Regions from separate parts of the Homo sapiens genome. Here region 1 is linked to region 2. The links are contacts of gene promoters, found by promoter capture Hi-C in blood cells and fetal thymus (Javierre and others, 2016). All regions are on one chromosome and are shown on one strand. Each heading gives the region's core, a stretch centred on a gene start or on the middle of the fragment in contact. The rest is flanking DNA. Distances are from core to core; before and after follow the strand shown. Region 1 has its middle 83 kb from the start of TRDN. Region 2 holds the start of TRDN-AS1 (TRDN antisense RNA 1).

Evidence for each region. Contacts are between HindIII fragments. The CHiCAGO score rates a contact against its expected background, and 5 or more counts as called.
Region 1: a contact is called between a fragment that was not itself captured here and the fragment with the promoter of TRDN-AS1 in region 2, in 2 of 17 cell types (erythroblasts and endothelial precursors). The highest score is 5.7, in erythroblasts.

What each region holds. Positions count from the first base shown.
Region 1 is chr6:123,718,472-123,721,619 of GRCh38, forward strand. No RefSeq gene overlaps it. Among named protein-coding and RNA genes, the nearest start is that of TRDN, 83 kb to the left of the region's middle. The HindIII fragment of the contact is 1,197 bases long and covers 1,096-2,292 here.
Region 2 is chr6:123,438,334-123,441,392 of GRCh38, forward strand. It overlaps TRDN-AS1 (TRDN antisense RNA 1), which reads left to right and starts at 1,271. Exons shown (of 3, transcript NR_110844.1): 1 at 1,271-1,444. TRDN (triadin) reads right to left here. Exons shown (of 41, transcript NM_006073.4): 11 at 611-670. The HindIII fragment of the contact is 3,987 bases long and covers 1-2,383 here.

The DNA of each region.
Region 1 (3,148 bases), core at 444-2,943, 280 kb after region 2:
TGACCTAAACATTTCCCCCAAAGGCCCAACCACCCAATAATAACACATTGGGGATTGAATTTCCAATATATGAGTTTTGAAAGGGAAAAAAATTCAAAACATAGCACAGGTCTTGAAGTCAGTTATCATAAATCCTGTAACTCATTTTTTTTTTTTCAAATTTATTTTGGCAAGTCTAGATTCTTTGTATTTCTATCTGAATCTTAGGATCAGCTTGTCAATTTATTTCCCTGGAAAAGGCTGCTTATATTTTTGTAGGGAACACATTGAATCTGTAAATTAAATTGAAGGAAATTAACATGTTGGTAATATTGAGCCTTCAAATCCATGAATATAGTTTATGTATCCATTTATTTAGGTTCCCTTTAATTTTTCTCAACTTTTTGTGGTTTTCAGTGAATAGGTGTTTCAAATTTCTTTTCAAATATTTCTAAGAATTTTATGTATTTGATGATATTACAAATGGTCTTGTGTTATAAATTTTAATTATCAATTTTTATTGCTAGTTTGTAGAAATACATTTAACATTTATATATTGATCCTATATTGTACAATTTTGTTAAATTCATTTACTAATTCTAGTAGCATTTTAACACATTCATTAGATTTCCACATAGACAATTATGATCAGGACAGGAGGTAGAGAAATTCTAGGCAGACAGCGGTGGGTCCCTGGCAAAACCCCACCCTCAAGCCTGAAACCATGGCCTGAAATGGGAACTTATTCCCTGTTTTCCCACCCAAATATTGCTTTTTCCAAAACTACCCATGGCCCTGGCCCCACCCCGCCCCATCCTGTGGCTATGAAAACCCTATACTCAGCAGGCAGAGAGAGGAGAAGTAGCTTGACATCAGAGACTATGGCTGGATGTCAGAGAGAAGCAGCTTGATCTCAGAGGGCCAGCATGATGGTGTAACTTCGGAGAAGAACCCAGCCGGAGATGGCTGGAATTCAGGAGAAGATTACCTTCTCACCCCATCTCCTTGTCAGCTCTCCTTCTGGCTATTAGCCACTTTCATCAGAAATAAAATCCCCCACATTTACCATCCTTCAATTTGTTCATCCAACCTTATTTCTCCTGGACACCGGACAAAAGCTTGGAAGTCACAAGTGCCAATATAAAAGACAGAGGCCCACTTAACACTTAAGTTAACACTTAAGTCATCAGCAGAATGGCAGAGCTAAAAGAGCACTGTAACACTTCTTCTGTGGCTTCAGAGGTTGTGGGTCCGCATGGAGTTTTGCTCCTGCTTGCACCCAAAAGTGCTCTCCTCAGCTCCTGCACCTGCTCACCTGCACACTCCCTCCTGCAAGTGGTGGAATGCATCAGGTGCAGGTGAGTGGAGTTTGCCCCTGCCATAGTGGCTGGCTGCTTCCAAAATTCCCACACTCCAGCTCCTGCCCCGTTCACTTGTGTACTCCCTCCCGCAAGGAATTGAAAACTGCAGGCTGGGTAAACAAGTCACCCCTGTCACAAGTCCCACGAAAGGTCAGGGAAATATCCTGCTTCAATTATGTCGTTTGTAAATAAAGACTTTTGTTAGATTCTTGTTCAGACTAGATGCCTTTTATCTCTCTTTCTCTTTTTTTAACTAATTGCATTGGCCATTACTTCTAGTACAATATTGAGCCAAAGTGTTGAGTGTGGAACTCCTCATCTTTCTTTCTGATTTTGAGAGTAAGCATTCCGTTTTTCACTATTATGTGTGACGTTCATTGTAAGATTTTTGTAAATATTCCTTAACAGGTTGAGGAATTTATCTTCTACACTTAGTTTGCTGAGGGTTTTCCCCTGGAATGACTGTTTGATTTTATGGAATGAATTGTCACTATCTATTGGGCTTTTATTTTGTTTCGTTTTAGTTTTTAAATGTAGCAAATTACACTGATATTTTTTTATTTTAAACACTTCACATTCCTATGATAAACACACTTGATCATAAACTTTATTTTCTGCATAGTTAAATTATATTTGCTAAAATATTGTTTAGAATATTTCTATCTATGTCCCTGAATGACAGTAATTTGAAATTTTATTTTGTAATATTTTTGTCCAGTTTTGGTCTCAGGGAAATACTGACTTCATAGAATAAGTTGGAAAGTATTCTTTCTTCTTCAATTTTCTGGAAGAGTTTTTAGTAAAATTGGTATGTTTTCTCTCTTAAACATTTGGCCTAATTCACAAGAGAAGCCACTTATGCCTAGAGCTTTTTTTGACAGGTTTTCTAACTAAAAAATTTACTTATTTAGTAAATGTAGGACTATTTGAGTTATCCCTTTCTTCTTGAGTAAGCTTTGGTAGTTTGTGTCTTTCAAGTAATTTATTTATTTTTATTTTTATTTTTTTTTTCTGACTAATCCGAGTTAGTCAAATCCTGGAAGGAATTTCAGGAAATTCCTTCCGTAAAACTGCAAAATCAAGTTAAGGATTAGAGGCATGGGGATGAAGCTGCAGGAGTAGCTGCAAAAGTGAGATATTTGTATAAAACACATTAATATACACCAGAAAGAAGCCCCTATACCAACAGAATTAAACATCCAGTCACTGTAGCCACCTTAGGGCTTTGGCATTTGGGTCATGAATGGAGTAGCCATGGTGATAGAGAGTGAAGCTATGCACGAGCCCACCAGCATAGGCTCCCCCTCACTAAGGCTAATCTACTTTTCCTCCTGTTAATATGTCCAACCTGTCAGGAACAGAGAGAGACCAATGCTAAGTCCCCAGTATAGTACCCACCCACAAGGAAACTAATCAGACATTTGGTGGATAAATGATGACATTGAACCCCTTCTACCCTCAAAAGGGCAACATTTTTTTGTGATCAAAATTAATATACCTTCTGGATATGTGTTCACCTTTCTTCCTCACAGTGATTCAGCAAGCACTACTACCAAGGTTTCACAGAGTTTTCATCTCCTAATATAATATCCTACATATTAATATCCTACATAATACTATCACCTCAGACCAAGGGATCAACTTCACCTTAAAAAAGAAATATAACCATCAAATCAATTAGTCCTACCACATAATGCACAGTTGGAAACCACCAGCCTAAGAGAGCAATGAAATAGCCTCTTATAGATACAGCTGAGGTGCCAGCTTGGAGATGCTATCCCCTACAAGCATGGGGTGCTACCACTCCC
Region 2 (3,059 bases), core at 21-2,520:
TTTTGCCAAAGGCAAAAATTATTTAATAACAGTGAAAACATTAAATGGCATTATTAATTATGGTATTATTTAACAGCTTTCCTAACATATATTGAAAAGAATATATTGAATGTTCTCTGAGCTATGAGGTCACCAGAACCATGTCAAAAGTTCTGAAATCTCTGAAGTTCACTTGGGACATCAGATAAATTATTTGAAAACAACCAATTAAAATATATATATATGTGTAAAACAAACCAATCAAGTATTTTCTGCCCTCTACATAAAATGACTTTTAAAATTAGACTGAATTAGTTAAATAGTAACCATCATATTCACATATATAGTTAAAGTAAAGTAGTGAATTAGAGAGAATTAAGCAGCTGCTCTTAAGAAAGAAAAAATAATCACAGTAGTAATTTTCAAAAAGTGTTTAGGATTGAATTCTCTTTTTAAAAATTGACAATTTTAATTTTATTTGGAATATCTAGACATGTTAAGAGTGTTCACTAATAACAATGACAATGCATTTATTAAGGGAATTTCTTTCCTAGAAAATAATAGATTTACCAGTAGTATTATGCATGGACACTAATTGATTTATGTGGTACATGGCTTTTAAATTTCCTACCTTTCTTTTTTGTTTCAGAAGTAACTTTCTTCTCAGCCTTCTTCTTTTCCCCTTCTTTTTCTAGAGAATACATTTAAAATATTTCCTTTAGGGAAATTTAGTATGAAAGCAAAACCAAGGTTGAAATGAAGGATTTTTGTTAAGTCAGTTCTGCCTCCAGCTAGCTTTGTGACTGAGCAAGTAATTTAATCCCACTAAGTCTTATTTTCCTCATTTATCAAATAATAATACCTCCCTCAAAGTTAATGTTTACAAAACACTGTGTAAAGTGCCTGGCTCACAGTAAATGTGTAACGTTGTAGACTGCTAATACTGTTTACAAATAATGAATGTGATAGTTTGAACTTTCTGAACCAAACAATTGTTTATCTAGTGCCTAAAAGTATTGATATATAAAATTAAAATATATTTCTTGGAAAATATACTGCAGATAAACTAGAAGAATTAATATTTGTTTTCTTTTATACATTTAATTTCATTAGAAATAATATATTAGACCATTAAAAAGGTATCTTTTGATGTAGCTGTTTTTCATATCTGGCTCTTGCCAACAGGCATTTAAGCCTGATGACAAGTGTCTGGCAGTGTGTTGGAAACATAACTTCCACGGTCCTTTCTGAGTGGTTGTATCAACAAAGCTGTTCAATCTTTGCACCCAGAGGTTGCAGTAAGTCTGGATGCCACATCAAACTGTTTGTGGTACTTCTAAACTTCGTGGAAGAGCCCTGTTTCATAAATCTGAGACAGCCTTGGTCTGAGGGAGCAAAGACAGAGAATTCACGTGCTGCCCAGGCATAGCCACATAGCAGGTGGACATCCCTGGACACTTTTCTGGTAAGCATAATCATTTTAGATAACAAAGTCCTGTACTAATACATAGTTGTTGAAATTGAATGTTCAGTGGTTTTAGATTTGGGACAATAATAGCTACGGTTAATGTTGTAAATGTACTGATTTTTATCTTCAATTAGCAGTGCTATTTACCTTATATTTGAAATTCCTTTCTCTTTGTCAGTTGTCTCTCATCTCAGGTACAGGTACATTCAAAGACTTCCGTTACCCAGAACTATTATAAGATCATTATTATGCTAAAGAAATTCAATATGTAGTTCTAGAATGAATCCTTAAGTTGTCTACTAATGACTGCATCTTATTAAATAGAGGAATTAACTCATTCCCATAGGTATAGAGCTTTTTTACCTACAAGATCAAAGACAACACTTTCTTTCAATGTTAGACATATAATTTATAAAGAACCCCTTTCATGATTTCTAGAGATAATCTAATGTCTCAGGGAAAAATGTATTCACACTTTGTCTAAAAGTGTCTACAGCATACTATTACAGCTCATCCAATCAGAAGTAGAAAGTCAAGAAGTCAAATTTTGATAGTTTCAGAGATAGAAATAAACCAATTGATTTCCACTTCTTCTTTTCTAAAGGTTTATGCATATTAAACATGTAGATCATATTTAAAATTCTGAATGAAGATACTTTCAAGTATCACTACTTTCAGCTTCTCTGGGAGAAATTTTATGTAGTAGTGAATTTTACATCTTCTCTAAATAAATGTATATGCCAGACAATTGAATAGCCATTTGCTAAGCATCACCTCTGATGTCATGTATCAGCAAAGGGGTTAATTAAAATACAAATGACTTGTAAATATTTCTAAGCTCAAGCTAAACACTAATGCCATACTAACCATAAGATCAGAACTCAGTATCCAAGTCTCCAAGTTTCATAAGGTTGATGAATAAATATTTCATTAAAAAGCTTGTGCCAATTAGTCAATCTTACACCGAACTTCACAAAGAAAGTAGATATTTGAACCCAGAATATGGAAGGCATTCATTTATTTTTCAATTTTCTTTTAGACAATGCTCTTGTGCAACAAATTCTACCCTTCAAATTAATATAGCTGGAATTTTATTGTGGTGATACAGTATTCTTGTCTTCGTCCAAATTGAATTAATGCTCCTATTATACACTCTGCTTGTGATTACAGTCATACACTGTGAGAGTCATGAATAAGAGCAGAAGTCCACAAAATGCAGATTAATGTCCTTTAATAACATTTTTATGAATTAGACCTTTAAGCTGTCATTATGAGACTTACTTTATTCATGCTGAATTTCATTTAAAATGTCAACTTCTCAAGATTCTACATTTCCTCAAGCACTATTGTCTCTGTTATATAGGTGATTTGGTAGCAATGGAATTAAATTTTTCACTTATAAAAACATAACAATTTGATTATATCCTACTTGGATATAAAAATAACCCATGTTTCTTTTATGAAAACTTCCTTGCCCCTGACTTTTTCTTCCTCAACAGCCAAGAGTACTCTTCCCTTTCTGTCTACCTGACTTTGAACACACATAAAAAATTTCCTCTTCCATCTCTTTCTCATTGGTTTGCCATTTTGTTTGTAACAGCTAGAGAAGAAT